Linked DNA regions of Homo sapiens: all the other regions are linked to region 4. The links are contacts of gene promoters, found by promoter capture Hi-C in blood cells and fetal thymus (Javierre and others, 2016). All regions are on one chromosome and are shown on one strand. The core of a region is centred on a gene start or on the middle of the fragment in contact, and the rest is flanking DNA. Distances in the headings are between cores, read along the strand shown. Region 1 has its middle 32 kb from the start of SAMD9. Region 2 has its middle 93 kb from the start of SAMD9. Region 3 overlaps CDK6-AS1 (CDK6 antisense RNA 1). Region 4 holds the start of FAM133B (family with sequence similarity 133 member B). Region 5 has its middle 76 kb from the start of SAMD9. Region 6 overlaps CDK6-AS1 (CDK6 antisense RNA 1).

Region 1 (3,147 bases), core at 555-3,054, 500 kb after region 4:
ACAAAACTTAACTCAAAATGTTCAAAGGCTTAAAGGTAAGACCTGAAACTATGAAAATCCTATAAGAAAACCTAGGAAAAATATTCTAAAGACTTAAATGTAAGATCTGAAACTGTAAAAATCCTATAAGAAAACCTAGGCCAACTCTTTTGGCCTTGGCAAAGAATTTTTTTTAAAGACCCCAAGAGCAACTTCAAGAAAAAGAAATAGACACATAGGACTTAATTAAACTAAAAAGCTTTTGCAAAGAAATAAGCAACAAAGAAATAATTAACAGAGTAAGCAGACCACCTACAGAATTGGAGAAAATATTCACAAATTATGCCTCTGACAAAGGACTAATATCCAGAATTTACAAGGAACTCACTCAAACAACTCAATAAGAAAAAAAAAAAAAAAAGCCAAAAACAACCCCATTAAAGGCTAGGCAAAGGATGTGAACAGCCATTTCCTAAAAGAAGACATACAAACAGCTAACAAACACATAAAAATGTTCAGCATCACTAATTATCAGATAAATACAAATTAAAACTTCAATAAGAATATCATCTTACACCAGTCAGAATGGCTATCATTAAAAAATCAAAATGCAAAAGATGCTGGCATGGATTCAGAGCAAAGGGAACACTTATACATTGTTGGTGGGAATGTAAATTAGTTCAACCTCTATGGAAAATAGTATGGAGATTTATCAAACAACTAAAAATAGAGCTACCATTTGACCCAGTAAATCCAGTACTGGGTGTTTACTCAAAGCAAGAGAAATCATTATATAGAAAAGACACCCGTACTTGTATGTTCATTGCAGCACTATTCACAATAGCAAAGTCATGGAACCAACCTAAGTGTCCATTGACAGTTGAATCATTAAAGAAAATGTGGCATATATACACCACGGAATACTACTCAGCCATAAAAAGAATGAAATCATGGTTTTTGCAGCAACATGGGTGGAGCTGGAGGCCATTATCCTAAGTAAACTAACTCAGAAACAGTAAGTCAAATACCACATGTTCTCAGTTATAAGAGGCAGGTAAACAATGAGTACACATGAACATAAAGATGGAAATAATAGACATTGGGGACTCCAAAAGGGAGAGGGTATGATGGGAATAAGGGTTGAAAAATTACCTATCAGGTATAATATTTGCTATTTGGGTAATGAGTACACTAGATGCTCAATCCCAGTGTGCAATATACCCATGTAACAAACAAGCATGTGTACCACCAAATCTAAAATTTAAAAATAATAATAATAAAAATTCTTTTATATTTTAATTATCTTTTAAATAAAAAGATTTATTATCTTATTATCTTTTTATTATTATTCAACAAAGAATATCTTTGTGGAATTTCTCATCAAATTATGAATTATTTTCCCAATTCCTTTGTATTGGCTGTGTTCTCTTGTATTTTACTGAGTTTCCTTAAGATCATTACCTTGAATTGTTTTTCAGGTATTTCATGGATTCTCATTTCTCTGGGGTCTGTTACTAGAGAATTATTGTGTTCCTTTGTGGAGGTGTCATATTTCCTTGCTTTTTCTTTTCTTTTCTTTTCTTTTTTTTGTTTTGGTCATGCACATTGATATCTGTGCATCTGGTGTAACAATTGCTCTTCCAATTTTATGGAGTAGCTTTTGCAGGAAAAAACTTTGCCCTATACATGTATCTATAGTGTCAGTTGGGTGGGGTGCTTTGGCTTTGGTCCTGGGGGCTGTAGTATAGTCCTTGTATGTTCTCTTGGGCTATCATCAATACCAGTGCAGTCTGTGAGTTTCTCAGTGACTTAAGCTGTGGATATTTGTGAAGGTTGTGATGCAGCTTTGATGGAGACAGGGGCACTGGGCAGGCCAGTCCTTGGGACCATGGGGGACCCACGCAGGTGTGTGATGGCCCCATTTCTGGAAAGGGAGGGTTTTCCAGTGGTGGTGATGACAGACCCTGAGTGGGCTGGTCCTCAGGCCCCTGGGTAGCATGTTCAGGCACCAGTGGTTGTGGTGGTTGTGATGGGCCTGGGTGGGCTGGTTTTTGTACCCCTGGGTGGCACATGTGGGTGCTGGCAGTGGTGGCAACAGGTTTTGGGTGAGCTGATCCTTAAAACCCTGGCCAGCATGCATGGTGGCCCTGCTGCTGGAGGAAGTGAAGTTGCTGGTGGTGGTGGTGTTACGCCCCAAGTAGTGCAGTGCTTGGGTCCCTGAGTGGTGCTTGTGGCCCTGCTGTTGAAGGGGTCAGGGTCAGTGTTGACAGAAGTGGCTCTGGGCAGGTGGCTCTCAGGTTCTTGGGAGTACATGTTTTGGCTCCCTATATTCGGGGGACAACTTCCCTGATGCACAGGACCATCTGTTTCACAGGGCATAAGGTGCTATATGGGATTCGGTACTAGGGATGTGGCTGCACCACTGGGTCCAGGTGGTATTGTAATGCTGTGTCCTTCTGGGTAGATTAGGGAGATGTCTCCATATATTTTCTTTCTTTATTCATCTGTTGATGAAAACTTATGTGGCTTCCTCATCTTGGCTATTGAGAATAGTGCTTCAATAAACATGGGAGTCTAGATACTTCTTTGACACACCAATTTCCTTTCTTTTGGACATATACCCAATAGTGGTATTTTTGAATCGTATGGTAGTTCTATTTTTAGTTTTTTTAGGAACCGCCATGCTACTTACCATAGTGGCCATACTAATTTACATATCCACCAACAGTGTATGAGGCTTCTCCTTTGTCTGCATTCTCACCAAAATTGTTTTTTGTCTTTTTTTTTTTTTTTTTTTTTTGAGTCTTGCTCTGTTGCCCAGGCTGGAGTGCAGTGGCGCAATCTTGACTTACTGCAACCTCTGCCTCTTGGATTCAAGTGATTCTTGTGCCTCAGCCTCCCAAGTAGCTGGGATTACAGTGTGCACCACCACACCTGGCTAAATTTTTTTTGTATTTTTTTTTTCGTAGAGATGAGGTTTCGCTATGTGGGCCAGGCTAGTCTCCAATGCCTGGTCGCAAGTGATCCACCTGCCTCAGCCTCCCAAAGTGATGGGATTACAGGTGTGAGCCACCATGCCCAGCCTGATAAAAGTCCTTTTAACTGGGGTGAGATGATATCATGTTTTGGTTTTGATTTGCATTTACGTGATGCTTAGTAATGTTGAGC
Region 2 (2,745 bases), core at 212-2,711, 430 kb after region 4:
AGACAGAAAAGTTCTCCAAGTCCCCACCAGACCCAGAAGCCTAGCTGGCTTCACGTCTCAGTATGTCTGCATCTCACTAGGCAGAAAGGCCTCTCTGCTTCTGGCGTCCACTTCTTAATGCAGTCATTTTTTGGCCTGGTTTAAAGCCTCAGCACCTATGTGGACAGCGTGGGACATCTTGTGAGTGCTACCCTACACACAGATAGCGTTCCAGCATTTGTCCGTTGCTTTCTTAGAAAACTAGGAAACCACTGAAGTAAGCAGCGGAGTTAACCTCAAAGGTGGGGGTCACGTAGTTCTCATATTATAGCTAATATGTATTTGCCAAAATAGTTCTAAATCTCAGGACCTGTGCTATTTCCTGCATGAATTCCACAGTATAGTTATGAGCCCCTAAGAGTGAACATGTTGTCTAATATCCTCAGTAGATCCCAAATGACTTTTAGTTAGAAAGAGTGAAACTGGATAATTAAACTCTGTGACTATTAATTACCTCTCTGCCTGAACAGAGCCTGCTCTGAACAGCGTTATGCGGTGGATGAGGTTCTGGTCTCATGGCACCAGCAGTTCACACTCTTCCGTGCTTCTACCCCCATTTCACCTTGTCTAGGGAGCCCTCTGTCCCTTGGGGGAAGTAAACACCAGAAGCACTGTGGCCGGAGACAAGGATCTGGGGTCAGAAAACCATTTCAAAGTATAGCCTTGCCACCTATTAGCTGTATGACCTTGAGGGTTCCTTAACATCCATAAGCCTTAGTTTCCTTATCTGACAAATGGAAATAACCTCAAAATGCTGGCATGAATGTCAAATGAGATAGTTCTGCCACCTAGTTAAGACTTGGTAAAAGAAAGCTGTTCTTATTCTTGGTTTTCCCTTGTATGGTTCTCCCTCCCAAGATGTCCCATGTCCCACACACATCCTCTCCCTCCCTGCATGTGAAACCTGCTATCAGAAAAGCATCAGAAAAACAAATTTCATCGTAGCTGCTAAGTGCATTATGGGAAGGAGATAGCACGGTTGTGGTACATGGTGGCATTTAAATACTTTGAGTCAGTTAAGGTACATTTGATGGATCTGCAGACTCTGTGTTTCTGAAGGTATCTGCGTGATTAAATGAAAGAAGGCTAAAAGCTTTCCCTTCATTCAGCAAACCTTCATTGAGCACCTACTGAGTGTGAAGCACTGTGGTAAGCATGCCGTATATGTACGGTAGCATTAGAAGCTGATATTGTCTCTGCACTCACGGAACTTTGAATCTTACAAATTAAAAAAAGGCTAATAGTGGAATGTTAAATACTGGCAACCGTGTAGGATGGGAAAGTAAACGTTAGGCATCTTCATGTTCACAAATTACTACATTCCATTTTATAGTTTGGTAGGAATGGGGGATAAGAGAGTTTTAGGGGAACTAGGAGATTGGGAGGAATGATGGTGAATATGGATTAAAACATAAAAAAAGATAATTTAATTTCTAAGTAAAAGAGCATTCTAATAGGTTGAAAATAATCACACACAAGCAGCTCTAAGATCAAATGACCTCTTGGTTGAGATTCGAGATTGCAGACTGGCTCCCTAAAGCAGCTGAGGCTCAAATTCAGTAAAATATCCATTTATGGCTTGACTAAGCACTGGGATCATTCAATAAAAATGGATATCCTAGAAAAGAGGAAATTGGCTATTTTCTTGATAATTTTATTGAAAAAGTTTCTCTTCTTCAGCAATCAAAAGAATGTACTTCTATTTCCCTCTATTAATAAGTTAGAAAATACAAAAAGCTAATATAATTACAAAAAGCTTACAAAATTATTTAAACCTTTACTAGGTGCTTTGCATGAGACTACCACATTTCACCTAAAATGAAATCCTAAAAAGAGATTATATAAAAACAAACTTTTCTTATAAATTAAACAAAATCTTTGAAACTTTTGAAGGGCTACTAAATCTTGTACAATATGTAGTTTAACTATTCTCCAAATCTGATAATTTTTTTAAAGGATTTAGAACACATAAGTACTAACAGCTCCTTCTCCTGTGGTGCTTATGTGGCACTGTGTGATAGGAGCACTTAAAGAGATTTTTTTCTTTCAGTCCCATTTAATCCTCGACATCACTCTGTGATGTGGCTTTTATGCTCATTTTACTCAGAGGAAACTGAGGCTTAGGTTAATGTCATTTACTGGCAGGCAGAAGAACCAGCATTTGAATTTCTAGCCCTGAGCTTTTTCCACTAAACCAAGTGGCGACACACAAATCTCTATGGGTGACAGTCCTGGCAGCTTAGATTTTGCCTTTTATCTGAAAATGGCTTATGATTTATTTTCTGATTTAGAATCTGAAAAGGATGTGGATTAAGTTATTTTATGAAAACAATTAGCCAGCTCTTGAAGCAAATTTGAATCACATTTTTATGACAAAACTACAAAACCTCGTAATAATCTGACCCTTAGATTGCAAGAAAAAAAGGAGAAGAAGGGTGGGCAAAGGGCAACAGGGAAAGGGAAGAATAATCAGGCTTTGGTGCAGCAGAGAAGAGTAAGAGATGGATTCCCATGAGAAAGTCCCACATGAATGAGGGACACTCATGCCTGGGTCTTCAGGACCTGGTTACCTGCCTATTGTAGGCTCCCACAGGGCCCATGGACTTTTATACTAGGAATGCTATTAGGATGGTATCAGGACTGGTTATGCTGGGAAGAGAGTGGGCATTAGAGATCAGGTACATCCTATAGCAAGAGGCTCACTGA
Region 3 (3,002 bases), core at 269-2,768, 290 kb after region 4:
ACCACTTTGCTTCGCTTAACAGATGACATCTAAGACCATGGATGACAAAAGACAGATTACCAAAGGAAGTTGTGGGAACTCTTGCTAAACCATTTAAAAAAAAGAAAAATTTTAAGCCAGGAGTGATTAAACCCAGCCAGGTCTAACATCAACATGCACAAACTGTATATTGGGGACAATTTATATCTCTATAATTAAATAATTTTATAGCTTAGCCCAACCTTTATGAAGAAATGAGTCTGTTGTTTGATAGAGCAACATATAACAGAAGGATTATAACTATTGCTAGATCAATTAGGGTCAACAATATAATATTTTCTTGATTATCTTTTTTTTTGGTCAAAAATGCAGGATAAAGAATGCCCATAAATTTCTCACAGTGCATACTCATGTCCATTATTTTCTAAATAGCTTTATAGCAAATTTAGTGCCTTTTTTGTATTTACTTGATTCTGCTTTGTTTTCAGATAAGGGCATATAAAACACTAGATTAATAGCGTAACAAAAATTTCGCATGTGTTGAAAAATTTCTAGAGGGCATTACAGGCATTTTCTATTCATTCCCCAAGACCCAGCTGAAAGGTCACCTTCACAGGAAGCTTTCTCAGCTTTACTCATACAGTCAGTTGTTTCCTTCTGTTCCCACAGCACTTAGCCCAGACCACTGTATAGCATTTTTATCTATTACTTAGTGTGATTATTTGCTTCCCTTTAATCTGGAAATTCTTCAGAAACAGAGACCTTGCATTAATCATTATGTCTTTATCATCTAGCACAGTACGTGGCATATGGTAGGCATGTAATAATTACTATGGGACAACAATATTTATGGTAAGTGAATGTAGAAACCATGTTTAGCTTGCAGATATACAGCTGCAATTCAGAAGTTGAAGCCCCTTGAGACTTCATTTTTGCCATTAGGTTGTCTGATGACTCTGTTAAAAAATTCAGCGTGGTCTGGTTCGTTTTCTAGTCTTTCAAATCTCCCAAAGAATGGTTCAAAGCTTTGGTTATATTAGATTTGTTATGTTGAATTCAACTTGAGGTTAGGAGGCTATAGGAGAAAAAATTGGAAATGTTTGGGCTTTATATAAAGACTTGGATGGGAGTAATATCAGCAAGATGGCAGAATAGGAGGTCTTAGGCTTCAGTCCACCACACAGAAAGTCCAACTAGCAACTATTCAGACAAGAACACCTTTGTGAAAACTGCAAAACTTGGAAATGAGACTGAGATACCTACATGGACCACAGAAATGAAAAACTATATTAGAAGGGTAAGAGGAACTGTCTCACTTTAACCATGTCAGCACAGTCCCACACAGAGGAAATTCCCCAGGCCTATGGTTTCTATAGTAGGAAAAGTGAGCCTGGTTGGACATCCAGCTTCCCCAGCATCATGGGTCACCCACTCCTATCTTGCCTTATGGGGGAATACTATGGGTAATGGTGGGACTAGAGCGTTTGGAGTCCAGTAAAAACAAAAAAAGGGGGAAGGGTTCATAGTAACCACTATACAGATCTTGGTGGTAGCTGTGTATTCCTGCCAATGGTGGCACCTGATCAAAGATACCAAGCCAATGTTATAGCCTACCCACAAAGCTGAGCTGATTGCTCCCAGAAATACAGTGGGAAGTTCTACCTGGCTTGAGTCCCTAGCCAGCCACTCCAACCAACCTCACAGCCTACCACAATGGTCCACCCAGGCAGGGAGATGTATGCCATCATGTATTTCTGCAGACCACAGGGGCTGGACCTGCCTGACCTGGGAGCCCAAACAGTGACTTGGCCCTACCTCAGAGCTTACCTCAAGATTGTGCTCTAGCAGGGAAATGCCTGCCACTGTTTTTTTGTTTTTTTTTTTTTTTGTACAGCATAGGGGCTGGCCCTGCCCAACCTGGGAGTTGAAACAGTGACTCAGCCTAGTCGCAGAGCCCACGCAAGACTCTGCCCAGGCAAGGAGGCAAGCCTCAACTATGTATTCCTATGGAGCATAGCCTCTAGTCTTGAAAATTCCAAGCAATGACTCTGCCTAAGCTTAAAGCCCAGTCCACAGGCTGTCCAACTCTAGAATCCAAATAGTAGTACTGCACAGCCAGGGAATACAGCCTGTGACTCTGCTGGATTAGAGGTAATCACAGTGCCTGGCCAATAGGTCAGCCAGACTGCAGAGTCCAGTGAATGGTCTCACTGGACTGCAGCCCCCAACTGTAGTACCACCCAACCTAACAGCAAAGGCAATGGAACCTAAAGAAACAGAGATCTATAAAATGACAAAGAATTCAGAATAAATCTCTTAAAGAAGTTCAGTGACCTGTTTAAAAAAATAAGGATAGAAAATTAAAATTTGGAAGCCAATACATGAAAAAAATGAAAAGTTTCACAAAAAATAAAAACAAATAAACAAAAACCAAATAGAAAACATAGAAATGAAAAAGACAGTTGCTTAATAGAATAATTCAATAGAAGGCTTCAACAGCAGACTCAATCAAGCAGAAGAAAGAATAAGTGACCTCAAAGAGAGACCATTTCAAATTTTATAGTAAGAGAATTATAAATAAATAAATGAGAAAGAATGAAGAAAGTCTATAGGAATTGGGGGGTACTTTCAAGAAAACTGACTTTTGCATAACAAAAATACCAGAAGGAGAAGAGAAAGAAGGCCAGGAAGCATATTTTAAGAAATAATAACTGAAAACTTCCCAAATCTGGGGAAGGATGCCAACATCCAGGTACCAGAAGCCCAGAGAACTCCAATAAAATTCAACCCAAAGAGGAGTTCACCAAGATACATCCTAACCAGACTATTAAAAATCAAAGACCAAAAAGAAAAAGACAAAAAAAGAATTCTGAAAGCAGTGAGAGAAAGGAGACTCATCACATAAGAGGGAGTCCCAATGCAGCTATCAGCAGATTTCTTAGCAGAAACTTTGCAGGCCAGGAAAGAGTGGGATGATATATTAAAAGTGCTGAAGAAAAAAAATTGCCAGCTAAGAAAACGTC
Region 4 (3,001 bases), core at 495-2,994:
ATCTCATGTCGAATTGTAATCCCCAATGTTGGAGGTGGGGCCTGGTGGGAGGTGACTGGATCATGGGGGCGGAGTTCTCATGAATGGCTTAGCATCCTCCTCTCCCCAGCACTGCATAGAGATGATTTCTCAACAGATGCGGTTGTTTAAAACTGTGTAGCAACTCTCCCCGTCCCTCTCTTGGTCCCGCTCCTGCCATGTAAGACGCCTGCTCCTGCTTTGCCTTCCACCATGAGTAACAGCTCCCTGAGGCCTCCCCAGAAGCAGATGCCGCTAAGCTTCCTGTACAGCCCATAGAACCGTGAGCCAATTAAACACTTTTCTTTATAAATTACCCAGCCTCAGGTTTTTCTTTATAAAAGCCATGCAAGAACTGGCTACTACAGATGGCAAGTGTCATCATTTCGTAAATGTTAAGTCTCCTTTGGTGTGAGACACACACAGCTTGCAAATAATTGTTGAATAAAAAAGCGAGTTCAAGAAACGTAGCACATTCGTTTTACGTGCATTTTCCTCATTTTGCTACTCAGTGGCTAAAACTTTGTCACAGGCAAGCCCAGAAATTGTCAGGCTGCAACCTAAGCTTATTGTTATTTCATTATGTTTACTACTCATTCAATCTGATTCATAACCTGAGTTTTTCAGCCCCCTCCCCGCCCCAGCGGTCTAGAATACTTTCCTCCCATCTCCGCTTCTCAAAAGCACCTTTTCTTTTGAATGCCTTTAGAATCTCTAACAACTATCAAGGACCATTTCCTACTCTTTCTGCTGTAAGTTATTTATGCATCTCTTTTATCTCATTCACTAGAGTAATAATTTTCATGCCCAGTACTCGCTCACACATCTTGCCTTTTGTGATTTCAATTAATCTGTAAGGTTGTAGATAATAATGATCCCCTTTTATAAACGACGGCACAGAGAAGAAAAGTAACTTGTTCTAGGTCACCCAACTTCCGACGGAACAAAACTGACATTCCAGTTTTGTGTTGGACTCGAAAGCCAACTATTTTCACGCCATTCATTCCCTCACAGTGTCTATGGGGGCCAGGTCCTACAGGGCGCTGGAGACACGAAAGCAAATGCTGCCATCCCATTTTCAAACGGGAGCCTGCTTGTCGCTAAAACCAGGCGCGCTGCTGGCTCTCCGGCACAGGGACCGCGTCGAGGCCTCTGTGCCTCCCTCCCACTTGGGTGCGCAGGAGAGGGGTGCGGACCTGGGGCGGCCGATACCAAGGGGCGGGTGAGTCGGATGCGTCCAAGGGCCTAAGTCTTCGGAGTTACATGGCGGGGCCAGGTGTGGGGGGGGTTCCCCGAGCCCTCGCGGTTCTAAGTGGGCACTGGGGGCCCGCGTACAGCAGGCAAGAGTGCAAACCAGCAGCGCCAGAAAGAGCGACGAGGTGAGGGAAGAAAAAAGGGGCGGGCAAGAGAGAGCTGGGAACCCTAAAGCGCCAACTGCGTGCGCGGCGCACGCGCATCTGGGATCGGCGGAGGGTGCTGGGTCTCCAGGCCCCACGTCTGAGGGCTGCCGCTTGCCCTCCGGCCCGGCCGGGAACAGCGAGGGTTCTCGCTGTCCTGCCGCCGGGCCCTGCGTCGCCCCACTGTTTTCCCGGCTGAGTACTCACCACCCGATTGTCCCGCTTCCCCATGGTGCTGGATCGAGCGCACAGTAGCACGCCGAGGGAAACCGGGCCGGAGAGACTGCCGAAGAGGGCCTGCCGCAGGTCCTCTTGCCGCCTCCCCACTCCGCCTAGAGAGCGGCACCACGCGGACTCGACGGCCGCGCTCTGCTACAGCGCCCCCTATCTCTGTGGAGGACAGGCCGGCTCCAGAGATCGCTGCAGTTGGCGGAGCGCCTGCAGGAGTCCGGTCGTTCATTAGGCACCCAAGAGCAGGCGACGCTGCGCTTCTGCACCGGAGCCCCACCAAGGCAGCTCGCTTCAGTTTGGCCTTGGATTGTTTTGCTTTCTTCCATTCTTTTTTTTTTTTTTTTTTTTTTTTTTTTTTTTAGACAGACTCTCGCTCCGTCGCCCAGGCTGGAGTGCAGTGGCACGATCTAGGCTCACTGCAGCCTCCACCTCCCGGGTTCAAGCGATTTTCCTGCCTCAGCATCCCGAGTAGCTGAGATTACAGGCGGCCGTCAACACGCCGGGCTAAATTTTTTGTATTTTTAGTAGAGACAGGGTTTTACCACGTTGGCCAGGCTGGTCTATAACTCCTGACCTCAAGTGATCCGCCCGCCTCGACCCAAAGTGCTGGGATTACAGGCATGAGCCACTGCGCTTGGCCTTTCTTCCATTCTTGATACACTGAAATACTCATTCGAGGGGACACAAAGATTCTCCCGATGCTTATTTTGTGCTTGACAGAGTGCAAGTGCTGGGGACAAAGTGAGGACCAAAGAGCCTTGGTCCCTCACGGAGCCCATCAGCTGGTGGGGGGAAAGGCAGTGCTGTCATAGACGCTGCTAACGAAATCACCCTTTAATTTCAATCCCATTCATTCATCACCTGTGCATTCATTTCACACTAATTTTTGAACATGTAGTTTGTACAGTTTTCACTAACTGGGTGGCTGGAAGCTGGAGCTGGGTAGGGCACAAAGATGATTAAGAAAAATCCCTATCGTCAAGGAGCCTGTTTATAAACTCGTAAGGGCAATAAACACACACAGGGCCAACTTTACTGCATAGCATATCGTAATATTGGCACTACTGCACTGCAACTTTAAGGAAGATGATCTGGGCTCCAGAGAAGATAATCATATTTAGTAAGTATTTATAGATAAAGCGACCCCTCTGGGTTCATCTTAGCAAGTATCATTAGGAAGTAGTTGAAAATCAATTAGGATCTTCTCCGGACTCTTGGAAATGGCAAAATGGGAATTACACTAATTACATACAAGAACATGCTTTAAAATCATCTTTCCCGATCTCTGCCTCCCTCCCTCCCTGCATTTTTCATGCTACACTATATGACAGATGCTCCCAACTACCATCTTCTGT
Region 5 (3,117 bases), core at 318-2,817, 450 kb after region 4:
AGAACTCGGGACCCACCAAATGGCAGGGTCAACAGAGCTATAACACAGGGCTGAAATGTGCCCCTTGCTCGCCACATTGTAGGCAACAAGAAGGACAGCAGAGAGAAGGAGAGAAGAAATGCGACCCTTTGGGGAGCTCAGACCTGGGAGCTCCCCAAGCCAGGGCTGTGACACCTCCTTTGGGGCTCAGCAATTCCTGCTGTCTCCAAGTTTTTGGGCACCAGTGCATTCCTTGGTGCCAGCCGTGGAAGCTGCTTGCAGTATGCAGTATGCAAGGCTAGTCCAGCTGCAGCCTTGCAGGGAGCCGACACCTGTGCTGGCTCCTGGAGTTCCCTGCCCCCACTGCCGCCAGCATGCCTGGCTGTGCGCAGTGGCCGGACACCTCACTTACCCACACACCCCTCACCGCTCTGCTCACCCTTGGCAGGCATGGGATCCAGGCCAGTAGCACGAGTTGAGTGCAGCCTGCCAGGCTGAGTGGGCCCAGCAGGCCCAAGCAAAACTTAGGCAAAGGCACCACCGGCCACAGAGATTTCCGGCTGGCGAAGCAATACCCTAAGAATCCTGTGACAATGCCAACACAATTCTGGTTTGTTAAAAATTTCAAATGTGTCACATTTTGATAAGGCCAAACAGAGCAGAACCATGAATATGCTAAAACCTATTAAAGAGTTATTTGAAATCAGGAATCAATATTTACACTATGGATATGCTGCAGGCTCCTGCATGATAGGTATGGCAGTTAGTTGAATTTTAAAGACGTCGTCTATTTTGGGTATAGATACCTTCAAAAGCAGGAAAATATGGAAAATTTAAATTTGCTATGCTTAAATTCTTATTAACATTTCTAACTTTTTTTTTTACTATCCCTTATTCTTACTTCTATCAATTATTTGCAAAATGACTTAAAAATATTTTTGAAAATATTTTAAAAAATTTAAAGGGTTTATTGGCCCCAGATGGTAAATGGTGATTTTTTTTCCTGGTATAATGAAGGTAAATGAGCTCTACTTGATGTATTTCAGTACATGTATCAATGTACATCAATAAGTGAATGGATAAAGGAATGACTCTAGACCCAATCAGTAAGAATATGAGGTGACTTTCAAAAAGAATATACAATAAAAGAAAGCAAGATAGAAAGGAGATCAAAGTGAAGGAAAAATACTTCTTTATTTTCAATTTCAGTGCTTGAGAAATAGAGCCAAATATAGCTACTGGTTGTAGCAACTACTGCAGTCTCCTTAGCTACAGAGAAGCCATGATGGCTCCTGTGCTGCTCATCAAGATTTCAAAGTTACAAAGTGAACCCAACTCCATGCCCAGTTCAGTTACAAAGTTGGAGACGGAGTTGTGCACACCTACAGGTATGTTATCTGAAAGAAGACATTGTGAGAACATAGAGCCTCATGACTTTGAAAAAAATATATTATACATCAAAATGCAATTTTTAATGAGTCTGCTTTCTGTTCCTATAAGCCAACTCCAACTCACTGCTTTGCAACTTGAGCCTTTATTCTTTATGCAACACTTATACTTCATTTCGTGCTGCCTTTCCCTTCTCAGTTGACAGTTCCAGTTTCCACAGAGGCAAAAAACAAAAACAAAAACAAAAACAAAAAACAACAACAAAAACAGCTGCATTTAAATATATATTTAAAATTTATGATATATATGCAAGGATGTTTATGGCAGCATTATTGATATTACTGAAGAATTTGGGATAACTTTAATGACCATAAATATGGGAAGGACTAAATAAAACATACACTGATATTCTGGAATATTATGGAGCCACTACAAATAATATAATACTGGTATTAAAGGCTATTCATGATTACATTTCTGAGTAAAAAGGAAGTTATAGAACAATATGTTTAACAAGATCCCATTAAAAAGAAGCGATCCTCTCTCTATAGGTACATTAAATGTATATTGCATGTATACAAGCATATGCAATACACACATATATTTTATACACATATATATTATACAGTATATGTGTTTGTGTGTTTAAAAAGACTGGAAAGATACTTGTTGGATTTGTAAGTGATTATTCCAGGGGAGTGGGAATGGAGGTAATTTTTACTTTTAATTTTAAACATTTTGGTATTGTTTTCTTTAACAAGAAGGTGATACATTAATAATTCAAAACTTTTTTTAAAGATAGAGCATATCTGCTATTGAGAGTGTACTTTGTAAGTGATGTCCATTTTTTTTCTCTTTCTCTCTCTTTTTTTTTTTTTGTAGAGATGGGGTCTTGCTATACTGCCCAGGCTGGTCTAAAATTCCTGCCCTCAAGCAATCCTCCTGTCTTGGCCTCCTAAAGTGGTAAGATTACAGGCATGATCCACTACACCTGGCTGGATGTCCATTTTTATGTATCTTCTCTAAAAATGCATTATGTGTACAACTGGGTCTTCAGTATCTGACTTTTCATCCCAGGCTCAAATGTTTCCTAGACTCTTAAACATGCCATTGTCACTTCTGAAGCATAGAAAAGGCACAGAGAGATAAAATGATTTAAAAAAAATCATCATCCAAGTTCTTGATAGTGGTAAGTCAACAAACTAAATCATAATTAATATTTTGCTTAGCCACCGATGAAGTGATATCAAATCTTATTAAATATGATTAATTAAAGCATTGTTGTAAATAAACACAAATCACTGACCACCTCAAAGCCTTTGCAGCCACTTTTGAGAAGTGCAGCTCTAAGACTAACTTGGATTTTTCCACTCCCAGTCTCATCCTCAGACAGCCCAATTACTGGGAAACACAAGGCTGAATTTGAAATTATTTTATGGGGGCGATTTTTCTGTCCCCTTACCCCCAGTTTCAACTCAATTAAGGATGCTTTCTTGTTTGGCGATTGCCCGATTGTGGGATATCTTCATATAAATTCCCCCAAAATGGAATCATGGATAGATATGTTGTAACAAACTGCACATTCCCTGATGTTTGCTTTTTTCGAAAATGCGTTAGTTCTACCTTCTTTTTAAAAATTCATTAATTCATTTATTTCTGCAAAGAGGGAGCGCCTTTAAGTCAACACACACACACACACACACACACACACACACACACACACACACACACACACACGAATACCCAGGT
Region 6 (3,030 bases), core at 280-2,779, 310 kb after region 4:
CTGACCCCTTGTGCTCCCTGGGTGAGGTGACACTGCACCACGCTTCGGCTTTCCCTCCATGGGCTGCTCCCACTGTCTCAGTTGGAAATGCAGAAATCACCTGCTTTCTGTGTTGATCTCACTGGGAGCTTCATACTGCAGCTGTTGCTATTTGGCCATCTTGCCAGCCACCTCTGAATCATAAGATTTCTATACATATTCTAGGTATAAGTCTCTCATCAGAAATATGATTTGCAAATATTTTCTCCCATTTCGTGGGTTGTCTCTTCACTTTCTTGATGATAACTTTTGTAGCACAAGAATTTTAAATTTTGATGTAATCCAATTTATCCATGTGTTTCTTTGTTGCTTGTACTTTTAGTGTCATATCTATGAAACTTTTCTCTTACTCAAGGTTATAAAGGTTTAAGCTGATATTTTCTTTTAAGAGTTTTATAGTTTTCATTTTGTAAACTAGTTTTATGAAACTATAGTAGTTCTTACAGTGAGGTCTTTGATCTATTTTGTGTGAATTTTTCTACATAGTGTGAGGCAAGGGTTCAGCACCATTTGCTACAAAGTCTATTCTTTGTCCATTGAATGGTTTGAATAGTTGAGTTGAATCTGTAGATCAGTTTGGGAAATATTGCCCATGAACATGGGTGTATTCATGGTATCTGATCTATGAAAATGGTATGTCTTTCCATTTATTTAGGTTGTCTTTAATTTCTTTCAATAATATTTTATACTTTCCAGAACACAAGTTTTTCACTTCCTTTGTTAAATATATTTGTAAATATTTTATTATTTTTGATGCTATAAGAAATGAAATTATTTTCTTTATTTCATTTTGGATTGTTCAGTGCAAGTGTGTAGAAATACAATTGATTTTTGTATAATGATCTTGTATCCTGCAGCATTGCAAAACTTATTAGTTTGAATAGTTTTTGCTAGATTATCTAGGATTTTCTGAATCATGATGACTTAATCATGTCATGTATACATATATTTTACTTCTTTCTTTCAAATTTTATTGCTTTCATTTCATTTTCTCCCCTAATTGGCTCACCTTGTATAATGTTAAATGGAAGTAGTGAGAATAATCACTCTTGTCTTGTTCCTGATCTTAGGGGAAAAACATTCAGTTCTTCACCCTTATGTATTACACAAGTTGTATATACCTTACCTGAACTAGTTGGGATCAGAAGTGTTCTGGATTTGGTGGTTGTTTTTTTGGATTTTGGTATATTTGCATTGTACTTACCAGTTGAATATCCCAAATAAAAAAACCAAAAATTTGAAATGATCCAGTGAACATTTCCTTTGAGCGTGATGTCAGCACTCAAAAAGCTTTGGATTTTAGGGCATTTTGGATTTTGGACTTTCAGATTTGGGATGCTCAACATGTATTAACTGTGGGTTTTTCATATATGCACTTTATCAAGCTGAGAAAGTTCCCTTCCATTCCTAGTTTTTTATAAACAATATTTTAGTCTTGCATTGTGTGAAATGTTTCCCTTTTCTATTGAGATGATCATGTGAGATGATCATGTTTTGTTCTTTATTGTATTGATATGATGTATTACATTGATTAATTTTTGGTCTGTAAACATTTGTGGGCTGTTATCCATTACAGTGTCTGCTCAACAGTTATACCTTGACAAGTGTGAGATAAATGCTGAGTCCTGGCCATGTTGCTGTCCCTCATTTTTAAAAAAAAACATTTGATATTAAGTATGGTATTTCTAATGGAAGCTTCTATTAAATGTCACACTGTAAAATTCAAAATTTGCCATTTCTCAGTTTCCTAAACTTAATAGAGCTCTTACTAAATTGTCTTTATGAGAAATGTGTCTCTTCCTATTTATCTGAAAGTAGATGAAGAGAATTTTGTATTGCTCCAGCCCTTCAGCCAAAATTAAATCAGAATAGGATGAAATTCTTAAACAACATGAGTGTGTATCTATAATACACCTTTCAAAAGGAACAAGTTCTTACCAAATTATGCTGTTGTTTTTACTGGAGTCTTAGCTTTTATGATTTTAAAAACATCTCTAAGGCTCAAATTCTATCGTTCTTGATTTGAAATCAACCTCTTCTTTTCCTATATCGTTGGAAGGGTTACACAGCTATGGCCCAAAAGCCAAATTTGGCCTGTAGATATGTTTTATTTGTCCGTAGACTTTTGAAAGTTAGGTCAAGCATGTGCTCCTAGCTAGACACCACATTCAATCTTCCTATTGTCTTTTATTATGCATTTAAGCATGGCTTTGGAGTTTGTAATTCTTGAAGTAAACATCTGGTTTTTGGCATTTTTATTTATCTCAATGGAACCATTATCTCTTGGCTTACCCAAATTTGAAATATTGGAATCATGGAATCATTATTAATAATTTTTATGAAGTTTTTTTAATATAAAAATCACTTAAATACAAATAGATTCTCATTATCTAAGATTTAGACAATCAAAAGTACAAAATGCTGAAAGTCCCTTTTCACTTCTGTCTACCACTTTTTTCTCATTTACATGTAATCATTGTCATTAAGTTGGGATGTGTTCTTCCAGCTCACTTTGTAGACTTTTACACACACACACACACACACACACACACACACACACGGGCTATTTTTTTGTATAAAAAATAGGCTTGACAAATATAGTCCAACTTATTAACAATGGTTACTTCTAGATGGGGAAGAAATAGTAGAGAGGAGTGAAGGGGCTTTTCAATCTTTAGCCATTACTACCAATTCTGTATAATCATGACTTACAAACATATTTATATGAAGACTAAGTCAGCAAGACACAAAACCCAGCAGCTATAAATGAGAATATTGATAGATTGACTATGTAAAAATATTATACTGTATCAGTCAGGGTTCAACCAGAGAAGCAGAACCAGCAGGGAGAATAATTATAAATACAAATTCAAATTTAAATACACACACACACACACACACACATACACATATATATAGACAGATATAGATGCAGATAGATAGATACATGTATAGAAAGATAGAGATGTGTGTGTACACATACAGATAGAC

What was found. Contacts are between HindIII fragments. The CHiCAGO score rates a contact against its expected background, and 5 or more counts as called.
Region 1: a contact is called between a fragment that was not itself captured here and the fragment with the promoter of FAM133B in region 4, in 6 of 17 cell types (neutrophils, total CD8 T cells, erythroblasts and 3 more). The highest score is 6.7, in neutrophils.
Region 2: a contact is called between a fragment that was not itself captured here and the fragment with the promoter of FAM133B in region 4, in 7 of 17 cell types (M0 macrophages, activated CD4 T cells, endothelial precursors and 4 more). The highest score is 6.5, in M0 macrophages.
Region 3: a contact is called between a fragment that was not itself captured here and the fragment with the promoter of FAM133B in region 4, in 2 of 17 cell types (activated CD4 T cells and neutrophils). The highest score is 7.0, in activated CD4 T cells.
Region 5: a fragment that was not itself captured here is called in contact with the fragment with the promoter of FAM133B in region 4 in 15 of 17 cell types (activated CD4 T cells, naive CD4 T cells, total CD4 T cells and 12 more); the score reaches 12.4 in activated CD4 T cells.
Region 6: a contact is called between a fragment that was not itself captured here and the fragment with the promoter of FAM133B in region 4, in 1 of 17 cell types (total CD8 T cells). The highest score is 5.0, in total CD8 T cells.

The regions. Positions count from the first base shown.
Region 1 is chr7:93,084,758-93,087,904 of GRCh38, forward strand. No RefSeq gene overlaps it. Among named protein-coding and RNA genes, the nearest start is that of SAMD9, 32 kb to the right of the region's middle. The HindIII fragment of the contact is 3,136 bases long and covers 237-3,147 here.
Region 2 is chr7:93,023,484-93,026,228 of GRCh38, forward strand. No RefSeq gene overlaps it. Among named protein-coding and RNA genes, the nearest start is that of SAMD9, 93 kb to the right of the region's middle. The HindIII fragment of the contact is 663 bases long and covers 1,131-1,793 here.
Region 3 is chr7:92,874,055-92,877,056 of GRCh38, forward strand. The region is part of intron 1 of CDK6-AS1 (CDK6 antisense RNA 1); the gene reads left to right. Among named protein-coding and RNA genes, the nearest start is that of CDK6, 39 kb to the left of the region's middle. The HindIII fragment of the contact is 1,032 bases long and covers 1,003-2,034 here.
Region 4 is chr7:92,588,646-92,591,646 of GRCh38, forward strand. It overlaps FAM133B (family with sequence similarity 133 member B), which reads right to left and starts at 1,745. Exons shown (of 11, transcript NM_152789.4): 1 at 1,623-1,745. The coding sequence starts at 1,646. RefSeq lists enhancers at 1,473-1,532, 1,623-1,902. The HindIII fragment of the contact is 8,062 bases long and covers 582-3,001 here.
Region 5 is chr7:93,040,199-93,043,315 of GRCh38, forward strand. No RefSeq gene overlaps it. Among named protein-coding and RNA genes, the nearest start is that of SAMD9, 76 kb to the right of the region's middle. RefSeq lists an enhancer at 367-881. The HindIII fragment of the contact is 6,307 bases long and covers 1-3,117 here.
Region 6 is chr7:92,898,992-92,902,021 of GRCh38, forward strand. The region is part of intron 1 of CDK6-AS1 (CDK6 antisense RNA 1); the gene reads left to right. Among named protein-coding and RNA genes, the nearest start is that of CDK6, 64 kb to the left of the region's middle. The HindIII fragment of the contact is 405 bases long and covers 1,328-1,732 here.